Linked DNA regions of Homo sapiens: region 2 is linked to region 1. Evidence: promoter capture Hi-C in 16 types of primary human blood cells and fetal thymus (Javierre and others, 2016). All regions are on one chromosome and are shown on one strand. Each heading gives the region's core, a stretch centred on a gene start or on the middle of the fragment in contact. The rest is flanking DNA. Distances are from core to core; before and after follow the strand shown.

What was found. The method cuts DNA at HindIII sites, captures the fragments that hold promoters and counts their contacts. A CHiCAGO score of 5 or more calls a contact.
Region 2: a contact is called between a fragment that was not itself captured here and the fragment with the promoter of SLC6A18 in region 1, in 1 of 17 cell types (neutrophils). The highest score is 5.3, in neutrophils.

The regions. Positions count from the first base shown.
Region 1 is chr5:1,222,124-1,228,538 of GRCh38, reverse strand. It overlaps SLC6A18 (solute carrier family 6 member 18), which reads right to left and starts at 3,158. Exons shown (of 12, transcript NM_182632.3): 1 at 2,902-3,158. The coding sequence starts at 3,061. SLC6A19 (solute carrier family 6 member 19) reads right to left here. Exons shown (of 12, transcript NM_001003841.3): 12 at 3,428-6,415. RefSeq lists an enhancer at 2,222-2,764. The HindIII fragment of the contact is 4,471 bases long and covers 642-5,112 here.
Region 2 is chr5:1,755,676-1,762,896 of GRCh38, reverse strand. No RefSeq gene overlaps it. Among named protein-coding and RNA genes, the nearest start is that of MRPL36, 41 kb to the left of the region's middle. The HindIII fragment of the contact is 3,721 bases long and covers 163-3,883 here.

The DNA of each region.
Region 1 (6,415 bases), core at 1,909-4,408:
AGAAACCTGCACCCCACCACACGAGGCTGAGAGATGCAGAGGCCGCAGTGCAGCCACTGAGCAAATGCAGAGGAGAAGCAGGCTCTGCTCAGAGCAGCGGCAAAAGCCAGGGATTGCTGAGAATCAACCAGAGACACGCCCAGGGTCATGATGGAGAGACCCGCAGGAAGGCAGAAAGGAGACCGAGCCGGGAGCCGCGAGGGTGCAGACGGCAGATGGTGCTCCAGTGCCAGCCCCCACTGCCTGGGCACTGCCTCCAAGGCGTGAAGGCCGTCAAGGTGGAAACTCCCCCCGGGCAGTGTAGAAAGCAGCACAGGGCCAAGGGAGCGCCGAAGAATCTCTTCTGGAAATTGACAACCTGGTGTAAAGCTCAGAGGAAAAGTAGCAGCTGGCAAAAGTTCAAAGAATAAAAAAAAAAGGCCTTGCTCTACTACTAGGCGTCGAGACTAACGAAGAAGCCATAGTAATTAATACAGTGTCGTTTTTGGTGCAAGAATCCACAGATCTCAACAGCACCTACCAGATACAGAAGTCGGTTGAACACCGGAGGCAGGAAGTAGCGGGGAGGGGGCGCGCTTGATGAGTGACCTCACGTGTGTGGACACAGCCAGCCCAGGGCCACCAGCTTAGTCATAAAAGCTTCCTGGGTTGAAACCTTAAACCACAGCAAGTGTTAGAGTGTCCCGGGCAGCTGGCCTGAACCCATCGCTTGGCATTTACGAGTCTACGTTCCTTTGATTTAAAGACGCTGAATGTGTAATAAAGCAGCTGCCATGAAATGTCATAGGTGTGAGAAAATCACTGTAAATCTTTACCGCAACGTTTTGCTACATTCTGTTACAATGTTGCTTTACAAGTCTTAGCTTTGAAGAGAACATTTATGTAGTTGAATACTTATGAATGGGAGAGCAAATAATATTCGCCTTTGGTAGTCATGAGTATATGCAAATGTTAAAAGCTACACAGTACCTGCTTCTTAATTATATCTTGTTTTCAAAATCATCAATGAGTGATCCTCACAGCGAGACAAAGTGAAGGGCATGTTCACACACAGGGTGAGAATGCTGATGGCACGGCCCTTAGGAAGTGTGTGAGTTAAATAAACTTGGATGTTTCATGACATGCAACCCGGTGGCTTGCATCAGGAGATTGATGGTAGAGTCGTTCATGAGTGGAGCAGCCCTGAAGTCCCCGCGCAGCTGGCGGGCAGGGCTGTTCTCCCTCCTCAGCAGCACCCCAGGTGGGGGCCTCCCCAGCTTTGCCCCAGCGTGGAGCAGCTGAGTTTAAGGGAGGCTAGTGCCAGACACTTCCAGTACACTGCAGGCGCTTAGCAATGGTAACTGGGTTTCGGTGGGCAAGGCATCGGCGGGCAAGGCATCGGCGGGCAAGTCATCGGCGGGCAAGGCATCGACGGGCAAGGCGTCGGCGGGCAAGGCGTCGGCGGGCAAGGCGTCGGCGGGCAAGGGGTCGGCGGGCAAGGTGTCGGCGGGCAAGGCGTCGGCGGGCAAGGCGTTGGGCGCGTCGGCGGGCAAGGCATCGGTGGGCAAGGCATCGGTGGGCAAGGCGTCGGTGGGCAAGGCGTTGGGCAAGGCATCAGCAGGAAAGGCATCGGTGGGCAAGGCATTGGCGAACAAGGCGTTGGTGGGTAAAGCGTTGGCCGGCATTTCCAGCTCTGCGTGAAGCCTGCTGCCCCCACAACCTTGCATGCTCTGGTGACTCTTAGCAGATCGAGCCGCAGCACAGGCAGCGAGGGCCCCGGGAGCCAGGGACGCCTCTGCCCTTGGGCTTTGGTGCTTTCAGAAATGCCTTCAAAGGGACTCTCATGATGAGAAGATCCAAGGCCCAATGCACCCTCTCCAGCCCCAAAGCCCCAAAGAGACCCCAGTGCCCCGAGGGTGGCAGTGACGGGTGTTTCTTTTTGTTTTTTCCATTTGTGCGCATTTCCTGCATTTTCTGCCTGTTGAGAATCTTTTCTTAAGCAGGAGGAAAAACACTTTAAAGGAGTAACCTTATAACAAGGGATAGTTGTGCGGGGCTCTCAGGGAAGGAGCTGAGGGCCCGGGGAACAGGCTGACCAAGCAGCCCGGCCTGGCCTGAGGAGGACCCTGCGGCCTGGGAAGCCCCTGCCCGTGTTGCCTGGGGAAGACCTGGGTGTCCATGCGTGATGTTGTACGTCGGCTCCCTGAGAGCAGTGATTCATGCCTGTCCCTACATCCTGTGTCGCCACATGGAGAGCAGAGTGTGACCCCTGCATGAAGAGAAGCAGGCACAGGGTGAGGGGAGGCTCGAGGTGCGTGGGAGCCTATTTCAGTCACCAATGCACTTCTGGGGGTGGTGAGTCCAAGGTCACTAAAGTCACCCAGACAGTTCTGAACATCCTGGCACCCCCCACAGGGCTCTCCCAGAGAACCAAAGCCAGGGAGGCGAGGGGTGGGCCCCCAAATTCCTGCAAAGAACCTCGGAGAAGGGCACCTGAGCACATGTCTGGACACACCAAGGCTGTGGTGAGGAAACCCAGAGCGGATTGTGTGTTCTTTAAAGAACTGACGACATTCAGATGGAAGAGCGCTCACTGTTTGTAGGGTGTGTGTGTCGGGCAGGGCGGCCCATTCAACCTGACGCCTGGCAGGAAGCTGCCCTGAGGTCCCGGAAGACCATAGTGGACCCCGAGGGGACTGGATCCTCCGTGCTGTGGGCAGTGGTGAAGCTGCCCTGAGGTCCCAGAAGACTGCAGGTGGGCCCTGAGGGGACTGACTCTGCCGTGGGCAATGGTGCACCCTGGTTTCCAGGAGGAGTGACTCTGCCCAAGCACTGGGGATGCGTGGCAGGCGCCTGGCAGGTCAGGGTGGAGACGGCCTCCCCTGCTTAGGGGTCTGCCCCAGGACGCAGGTGGGTGCTTACCTCCTCCATAGGTCTGGCACAGGTATGGGAACCGCCAAATGTTCCCCAGTCCCACGGCAAACCCAGTGCAGCTCAGGAGGTACTGGGCCTTGTTGTCCCACTTGGGCCTCTCATCCCCGAGGTCGCAGGCGGCCGGGTCCGGTTCTGGGGCATGAGCCATGGTGACTGAGTGCCCCAGGCTTCAGGGCAAGGGTGGTGCCTCACTCCACACCCAGCACTAGAGAGCCGTCTCCAGCCTCTGCCGACGTTTGGAAACCACAAGCAGCCCCACTGCAGTTGTATTTATTCATTTCTTTAAAGGAAAACCAGTGGAGTGCCGTTAATGGGTAACTCAGGTCCAGGCCCTGGCTCTGACGCCAGGGTCCTTCCCTGGCACCCACGTCCTCTGCTCCTTCTCGCATGCTCTGTGTTCCAGGCAAACGCCGGGCCTGGCACCACCCCCAGCACCATGAGGACCGTTTGCAAGGACAGCCTCAAGTTTTTTTGTTGCAGACACCAGGATTCCCAAGACTGAGGCATATTTTAATCGTTTTAAATTTCTTATGTTTTATTTAACCATTTGATCTTGAGATACTTATAGATTGTCACTCTGTCACTGTCAGAAACAACTCAGATCAGATCGCATGCACCCGAAGCCCGGATTCCCGCAGGGATCCTCTCAGCTGCTCTTGGGAGGCCGGGGGCTGCCCTCACACCCACTGCTGCCCTCGGGCCGCTGGGCAGGACAGGGTGACAGGCACCCACCGTGCGTGGGGGCAGAGGGCTGAGTCCTCTCCTGTGCTGGGGGCACCCCTGTCCATGGGTGGAGGGTTGATGAGTTGACGCCGGGTGAGTTCAGCTCTAAGGAGCTCCCCACAGTGCTCCCTGGACTCTGGGGCTCCTCCTTGCAGATGCTCCCGCCACGGACAGGCCAAGGGCCCCCAGGCCCGCAATTGCCCCATTCCACTGGACACTGCACCCCTCAACCGTGTGGCCACAACTCCAAATCCATGAGTCCCAGGGCAGGGGCCCAGGTGGACACATTTTTGGAAGGTTCTTATTTGAGTGAGAGGAAGTGTGAGGGAAGAAGATGAGAAGAGCTGGTTGGTCCCCATTGTGAGGCCACAGGCCTGGGCCATGGCCTCTTCGGAGCAAGCCCCCAAAGCCAGACCCCCCAGGAGGAGGCAGGAGCTGGACCTGCCGTCCCCACCATCCCGTCTGAGGTCACTGGCTCACTCATCCCTCTACGTCTGGACAACAGTAACTTCTAGGGTGAGCATACTCAATAGAAGGGATTTATTTAGAAATGTACACTTTATGCCCATAAAGCCTGCATTTCTACCACATTTACAGAGACATTGAAACCTATGAAACAACGCATGAATCAGGAGATGTAGATGAGATGGGAGCTCCCGCCCAGGGTCCTATGGCAGGCACACCAGGGTACACCAATGGATGCCAGGGCACATCAGTGCACACCTGTGCATGCCAGGGTACACCAATGCACACCTGTGCACGCCTGGCAGGGCCTCCTGGGCAGATGCCACAGGGCAGCATATTAATGGGGCACTGATGGAAATTTTCTCGATCCAGGGCCAAAGAGCAGGAAAAGATGAGGTGAGACCCTGTTGAAGCCATCAGCAGGCGAGCCCCTCGGTGGCATCACAGCCGGGGGCAGAGGCTGTGATATGTCCCCCCACCTCTGCTGCTGTGGAGTCTTGCGCATCCCAGGGCCCAGTGACAGTCAGCAGGGTGAAAGGGGCTGGTAGGGGACTCAGTGTGTGCAGTCACTGCTGGATGGGGTGCTGGAAGGGACGATTGTGACCAGGTTTCTGTGGGTGGAACATCATACTGGCACACACCAGGCTTTCAGTCCTGCCTGTAGGAATTCTCAGAACATCAGTTTAATGTAAGCGTCCAGATTCTTCTATGGAAAGCAGAGGTGACCTGTCCGTAGGAACTCTCAGAACACCAGTTTAATGTAAGCATCCAGATTCTTCCATGCAAAGCGGAGGTGACCTGTCCGTAGGAACTCTCAGAACACCAGTTTAATGTAAGCATCCAGATTCTTCCGTGCAAAGCGGAGGTGACCTGTCCGTGGAAGCAGATGTCCCAAGTGCCGACTGCCTTTGGCTGCGATGGAATGTTGAACCCCAATGGGGGCCCATCCCGTGACGGGGGCAGGGCAGGCGCCAGGCTGGGCTTCACTGAGTGGTGCGGGAGCTGGAAGCTTCTGGGGGCTGCACGGTCCTCCAAGGTGCCCTGGACACACACAGTGCCCAAGGATGGCAGCCAGGGTTGAGTTACCCTGTAACCCATCTTTTCCAAAGGCTGGCTAAAAATTCACACAGCTCATGTCCTCTTAAGAAAATGCACAGAGTGGTATTTGCCTTGAATTATGCCAAGTTGAGTTTTATTTAACTGCTCATCTATTTGTGGTGGCAGGAGCAATGATTAAATGGCTGGCATTCATTAAGCCGGGAAGCGGCCAGAACGCAGAGACTCGGCAGCGGCCGACTGGAGGCAGGGCCCCGGTGGATGCGGCCAAGTTTTCTCAGAATCGCCAGCAACTGCCCACTCCGGCTTCCGAGAGGCTGCTCCGGGTCGAGGGCTACAGGGCTCTGGGAACCCCCAGGTCAAAGGTCAACACCAAGGGGAAGGGGATGGGTGGGGGTGGGTAGCAAGAGTCGCTCCCAGGAGCCAAGATAGTACCCTGTGCTTTTGTCTCCTGCCACCCACAGAGATGAAGCATAGAGGTGCTGCCCCCACCCCAGCTGCAGCTTCCGCTTCCCCCGGGCACGTGCAGGGCACAGCACGTCCCCAGTGGTCTGCTCCCCTCTGCACATGCACCCCGTGACTGTGGCAAGGACAAACACAGAGGGCAGCTGGGCCCCGAGTGGCAGGCATGTGTCCCAGCGACGTGTACGCACACATATCCACACGTGTCCATATGTGTGTCCATATGTGTCCATATGCGTGTCCATGCGTGTCCATATGCGCACATACATACACACTGGCATGCACAAATGCACACCTGCCTGAATATGCACACACACGAGCACACATCACACACATATACACAAACAGGTACAGACACACACATATACACAACACACGTATACACACACGTACACATGCTCACATATACACACGTCACACAGGCATACATGTACATATACACATGTGCATATATACTTGCAAACGCACACACAGAACACACATACACACAATTGCATGCATGTATATACACTCACAGATATACATATACACGTGCATGTGGACACCCATTGTACGAGCACATGTGCATGCATGTATACACGTGTGTGTTCACACATATGCACACCACACACAACATAGGCATGTATGTCTATATATACATGCACACACACGGGCAGCAAATATCGCACACATGTATATGCATGCACACTTGCACACTCACACAATGTCCATACATGTACATGCACACACACAACATGACACATCTGCACACATGGCACATGCACATACAATACACACACCCACACACATGTATATG
Region 2 (7,221 bases), core at 774-3,273, 540 kb before region 1:
GGGTGTGACCCTGGTTTGTGACCACTCCCATTTCCTTTCCCTGGGCCCAGCCAAATCCCGGATCAGAGCCCATCTCCCTGATAGGGAAGCTGGTCAGTTGGAAATCTGTGCCCCTCCATGCTACGTGCTGACTGTCAGGAGTGGGGGGCAGTCACGAAAGCTTGGGCAGAGCTGACAGTCGGCTGCACACACCATCTGCCATGCGGAGATGATCGGTGTGGTGAACGGGTAAGGAAACCGGGCATTGCTTTTACACATCCTGACTGGGAGAAGGTTGCTTGGAAAATACACACGAGGCCAGTCCTCTCCTCCCCTTAGTTCACGGCCCTCTGCGGGGACAGACCTCTACACAGGAGCCACTGTCACCAGCAGAGCCAGCTCTGCCTGTGTCCAGCCTCCGACAGGGACCCCTGGGCTTCAGCAACACCCCTGCCTCTGCCTCTGCCTCCTCCACTCAGCGCAGTGGCTCCAGCTCCCCTCGACTGCTGTGCCGAACCCTGGCCGTGAATAGAGAAAGCTCCACCAATGTTGCTGAGTCCATACGATGGCGGGTCAGGCAGCCATTTAAAAGGACAAAACAACTGTGCATGCTGCTGTGGGAGGCGTGTTGAGAGGGTAAACACGTGAGCTACAGAACAGTCAGATCCCATTCATACTTAAAAAGAGATTTTCACCTGCACAAGCACATACACACGGAGATGCACACAGGGGCCGAGTGCGGGGGCTCATGCCTGTCAGCCTAGCACAGTGGGAGGCCGAGATAGGCGGATCAGCTGAGGTCAGGAGTTCGAGACCAGCCTGGCCAACATGGTGAAACCCTGTCTCCACTAAAAATACAAAAGTTAGCTGAAATCACTTGAACCCAGGAGGCGGAGGTTGCAGTGGGCCAAGACCGTGCCACTGCACTCCAGTCTGGGCAACACAGGGAGACTCTATCTCAAAAAAAAAAAAAAGTGCACACAGAAGAGCTACCGGAGGCCACTTCTGGGGAACCTGGTGATTTGCCGGAGGGTGTGAGGATTGGCTCTCACTTTTACTTGGTAAACTTCTAGATCATTTAAATGTTATGCTGAGAAAAAATAAAACAGTGTTAATTTTTAAAAATATCTAATACACCTCATTCCTTAATCTGATGGGTTCTGACACTAAAAGCCATTGCCTCTGGAACCTAAGACGACTGTGAGAACACAAGTGACCACAGCTGTGGCCAGGTGCCCCTCCAGGAGAGCAGGCGATGGGGGAGACTTTGAGCTCCGCCTGCATGGCCGGCGAGACAAACGGATGGCAGGTGCAGTGGGCAGGTGGGAGTCGGGCAGTGGTCACCACGTGGAGAGGTGTTTCTGACTCTGAGGGTCACAGGGTGCACAGGAGGCTTTGGGGGTTGGGAGCGACTGCCTCCGAGGGCTGGTGCAGAAGAAGCCAGCGGGGGAGTCTGAGGGGGAGCTTCAGATGTGGAAGGTGGACCTTGTTGAAATGCATGGGCTGATTTGGCGGGTTCCAGGTGAAGAGACGTGGCCACCCAGGGACCACACCATGAGCAGTGAGCCACATGATATTGCCTGGGGCTCGAGCAGATAACCTGGGAGGAGACCACCCGGCCCTCGGTTATCAAGTCTGTAGATGGAGCAACCAGGTGACTGGGGCTGCCGCGTGAACTCGGTGTGATCCTGCCCTTGCCAAGCCTATCAGACCAGCCTCAAGCGCAAAGGGCTGTGGACGCCCCCAAAGAGTCTGTGACGTGCAGAACCACAGGGTCCATGCTGCCTGGGAGAGCCCCGACGGGATCTGGGAACTCAGGACCTGCCCCAGAGGCACTGCTGGATCCTGAGCCGAGACAGCAGCACAAACCCCTCTCCCCGCCCCGGGGCCTGGCCCGGCGCTCCTCACCCAGACCCCAGTCGGAGGAGCGTGGTTGAAACCTATAGGGAAAGAGCAGGTTTTCCGGTCTCAGCACAGTGAGTCTGTGTAACTCTAACCTGGGCCACAGAAGTCACGAGGATTTCTCCTTCAGTCCTCGCTTGCAAACAATGGGAGAGCAAGGGGACCGATGAACAAAATCCTCCCCCATGAGGCTGCCAGGGTCCCTGTCGGGAGGCCACAGCCCTTCTCCCTGAGGACTCAGGGGCCTCCAGCGGGGTGTGCCCTGCTGAGGACCGCGTTTGCAGCTTGTTGAGAATACTTACTTTTAGTGCTCCCTTTTTGTTTCAGTACATTTCTAACTATTACATTTACTTTTATTAATTAATTGTACTGGTTTTTCAAGTCTCGTTAGTTGGGTAGTTCATATTGGTCAGGTTTTAAATCAGCCGACTATTATGGGCTGCGCACTCCACATGGAGTTGGCCTTCACAGTCTGCATTTTAGTATTTCCTGAATTTAAAAATGCGTTGGATTGGATTTCTTGTTATAAATTAAACCAAATGTGATTGCCACCCCCTCCCCATCCCATTGACTTTGCCAGCTTTTCATTATGGAACTGAACATGGTAAAACATTTCATTTGGATGGGATTTCATTTTGCTCTGCTGCCAAACTCTAAGCAAGAATGGACTTTTTAAAACAATATTTTTTAAACCATTTTGTAAAGACTTAACACTGTGTTCACATTTTGGATGCAAAATGTATTTGGAAAGAAAGGAGACTCTTAAAGAGTTCAAATAGTGTGGAATTTACTAGTCACGTGCAATAATCACTTTTCAGATTTAAACTTAATATTAATTTTTAACAGTTCTCAGTAAGACACTGCATTTGTCAAAATAAACACCCTCTCATTGGAATGGGCTGACAGCAGCAGGAGAATGTGTTGAGAATGTGGGCTTTACCACGGGCTTGGAATAATTAAATCATATTGTATAATCCTTTTTATAGAAATATAAAGTTACTTTTCTTTGCAAAAGTTTCCACTCCTGGGGTCCTGGAGGCTCCTCCCTGAGACTCTCGGCACCCGAGGCGTGAGTTGGAGGTGACCTGTAGCTTCCACAGGACACAGATGCCCTGGGCAGGCGAGCAGGCCTGTTCCTAAACGGTCAGAGAGCAAGTACTTTCCACCTCGCAGACCACACAGTCTCTGTCTCCACTGCTCAGCTCTGCTCTTGTTCAAACGCAGCCTCAGACGATGAGTGAACGATGAGTGTGGCCACCTCTCAAGGTGATTCCATCTACAAAAGCAGGTGGTCACTCCCCAGCCCCACAGTAGAGGGGGCCGCCCCTTCCTGCCCACTGAGGCTTTGTCACAGGGCCTTTGTCACAGGGCCTGATGGGACTTGCTTGGGAGACCACCCTTGGAACCCTTGGAGTTAGCAAACACCTGCCTCAAGCCCCATCCAATCCCATCCACCAGGCTCCCTGGCATCCTGAGCATTCAGTGTGTGCAGAATTCAGACCAGCAGGACGTTTCCCAAAACCTCCACAGGGGACCTTAGTAAGCATCGAAGGGCACCTGTAATCCCAGCTACTTGGGTGGCTGAAGCATGAGAATTGCTTGAACCAGGGAGGTGGAGGTTGCAGTGAGCCGAGATCACACCACTGCACTCTAGCCTAGGTGGCAGAATGAGACCTTGTCTCAAAAAAAAAAAAAAAAAAATATATATATATATATATATATACACATATATGTGTGTATATATACATATATATAAATTTTGGATATATTTAAGTATATTTATTAATATTAATATATTTGTAAAAATATATTTTAGATGGGACCTGACTTCTCTGTAGCTCATTGGCTGTCATGACGATCCCGCCCCAGCAGTGTGTGCAGTTCTACTTTGTTCTTTTAAACGGCTGCCTGGCCCTCCATTGTACAAACCCAGCAAACCTGATGTAACTTTCCCTGTTCACAGCCATGTGTGTGCTAGTTTTTGTCTCACATAAACAAAGCTTCAAACAGCAGCCTTGTAGATCTCTCTCTTTTTTTTTTTTTTTTTTGTCCATTTGCAAGTATATTTCTAAGGAAGTTACCTAGAAATAAAACAGGAAAAGATGAGACTGATTTAATTTTAATGGATACCGAAATTGCCCCTGGACAGGCTCACTGTTCTTCCTGGTACCCAGTGTCACAATGAGGAGGGTCTGATGTATGTGTGGTTTTCTTCCTTTCTAGGTAAGCTGTCTGTTCTCTCTGGAAGATGGCAATGCTTTCTCTTGTCTTTGGTGTTCTCAGTCTCAGGTAGAATAGAGACTCAGAGCTTACTGGTCTGGGACTGGCCTGATTGTGTCGTTTAACCCCTTTACCCCTGTTGAGTCAAAGCCAGTGCTTTGTATCGTATCAGCTCTGAGATCTTTTATTAATTCTCTGTTATTCTTCCTAGAATTTTCTGTTTTCTTTCCTGGAAATCCTAGAGAAACACTGGATACCCTGGATTGCATGTAAGTGTCATCTCCTCTGAATTTTCTTTATTGTGGTAAAACACACACAGTGAACATCAGTGTCTACTTATCTCTCTGCATTCTGAGAGATTTCTTTGATCATAACTTCCAGTTCATTAATCTGGACTTCAGCCATGTTCATGCTGCTGACTTGACTTGTTCTTGCATTTTTTGCTGGAGATGTTCAGATTTTTAATTTCTGATAGTATTTTCATCTTTGTTTTTGGAGGGGCCCATCTGTTTAATCTTATGAATGCATTAGACTCTTGGATATCACTTCTGATACGAATTAACATTTTGCAATAATGGGCTGGGCATGGTGGCTCACACCTGTAATCCCAGCACTTTGGGAGGCAGAGGTGGGTGGATCACGAGGTCAGGAGATCGAGACCAGCCTGGCCAACATGGTGAAACCCTGTCTCTACTAAAAATACAAAAAAAAAAAAAACTTAGCTGGGCGTGGTGGGACGTGCCCATAGTCCCAGCTACTCGGGAGGCTGAGGCAGGAGAATCGCTTGAACCCAGGAGGCAGAGGTTGCAGTGAACCGAGATCGCACCACTGCACTCCAGCCTGGGTGAAAGAGCGAGACTCCGTCTCAAAAAAAAAAAAATTTGCAATAATGTTTCTGGGTCTCCATATCACTTCTGTTTCCCAGAGCCATCTGCTGTGCTTGCTTACCCCGTTGCTTCTCATGTGTGCCGGGGGGTGGGGCTGATCCAAGTATTTGGAGGCCCTGATGCTTACGCTGTGGAACACAGGACTAAGTCGATCGGCCGCCCTGGCTGCTGTGGCATCTGCATTTATGTGGATCTACTTTACTAACCTCTTGTGACTCTGGACCAGAAGAGACTGCTGGCATGGGCCAGTTAGCCAGGAGAGGCTGGACCCGGGGCAGCTGGGCAGGGGCCAGGCAGGGGTCCCGTAGCTTCGGGCTCAGCCACAGTGAGAGCTGAACCTTGCAGTGGAGCTTCCATTTCCTCCCCTCCTGGGGACTACCAGCTTTGCTACCCATCCGTACATTTAATTGCCTCTGAGTCTCTAGTAAGTGTTTCAGGAACTCCACGCAGCTCTTTCTCCCTGAGCCCCTCTGCTCACCCCATGGTCTTCTGGAGACAGGTGGTGAGCTCTGGACAGCATTTCCCCGCTTCTGCCTGGTGGAAACACCCCGTCTCATTGCTCGCGATGGGAACTGGGCTTCGATTGGCTCCGTTCTTCCAGCGCGCCTCCAGTCTCCTGATTGGCTTCAACCTTCCCCGGGGCTTCTTTCTCCCATATTTTGGGCTGCAGTCTTCTCTCTTCAGCTCAGTCGGATTCTGTCTTCATTTCTCACGAATGTGTCACAACTCCTGGACACTGATTTCCAATGTTCCTAAGGATTTATTATTATTATTATTATTATTATTATTTGAGATGGAGTCTCATTCTGTCGCCCAGGCTGGAGTGCAATGGCATCATCTCAGCTCACTGCAACCTCTGCCTCCCGGGTTCAAGCAATTCTCCTGCCTCAGCCTCCCGAGTAGCTGGGATTACAGGCACACAACACCACGCAAGGCTAATTTTTTGTATTTTAATAGAGACAGGGTTTCACCATGTTGCCCAGGCTGGTCGCGATCTCCTGAGCTCAGGCAATCTGCCTGCCTTGGCCTCCCAAAGTGCTGGGATTACAGGAATGAGCCACTGCGCCCGGCCAGGATTTATTATTTTTAACTTATATTTTCTCACATTTGGAGAAATGTTGAGTGGAAAGGAACCGTATGCACTTACTCGGTCTTCCAGTTTGATTTGGATCAAGCAGGAAAAGGAGCTAATTAAGTTGGGCATTCAAAGCTCTGAGGAAGTGACTTGGGATCTAAGACCCAAGGCACGAAATGCAAATTAAACATTGTAGAGGAAGGCGATGGGCTGCCTGAGCACTGAGGCGTCTTCCGGCTGAACGGAAACAAACGTAGGCCTCTACTTTAGAAAGAAAAAAGATGTAACAGCACGAAAGCTTAAGTATGCTACAAATAGAACAACAAAATATTAGAAAGAAGTTTTGAAATGCTACTTTTGTAACCTGGAAGTTGGGAGATCTTCCCTTAACCAGAACAGAAAACCCAAAACCTTAAAGAAAAGTTAAATATATTTTACAGTATCAAATTAGGTATTTTTACATGGCAAGTACAAATTATAGCAATCTAACAAGTGATAGACTGAGAAAAATGTCTGCAGTTCATATGATAAAGGGTTAGCGTCCTTCATAGACCAAATTCTCTTACTTCATGTTGAGAAAAAGTCAAGCAATGCAATGGGAAAAATAGCAAAGAACAGGAACTAGCCATGTGCCAAAGACGATCTACGGACAACTAATAAGAATTTAAAATGAGGCACAGTGCGGGGTTAGGGAAATGCGAACTCTGGCAACAGCAGAGCCTGCTTCTCCGCTTTGGAACAGCAAACATCAAAACTCCGCACCTCTGGAGCTGCTGAGGGTGCGGGGAATTAGTTCACGTTTCTGGCAGAAGTGCATACTGAAATGATCTTTTGAGAATCTTATCTGGCCTTGTCTGCTAAATTAAAAGTGAATGTGATTTATCCAGCGATTGCTCAGGGGGGCGGGGGCCGGTGGCTAGGGGAAAAGTATCACGCAGGCATTTTAGCATTTGTGTGCATAAACCTAGGGGTTTAGGGGTGTTTATTGAAGCCTTTTTATGAGGACAAAACCTTGCACCCCTGCCAGCTGCCTGCCTTTAGCAGACGTTGAGTGGAACACGGCGCCTGTCCTCAGCCAGCCTCAGGAGGAAGAGGCTTTCCTTTATGTGAAGCCATGGCTGACCCCAGGGTCCCTGGTCCCCATACTGTTGATGTGCA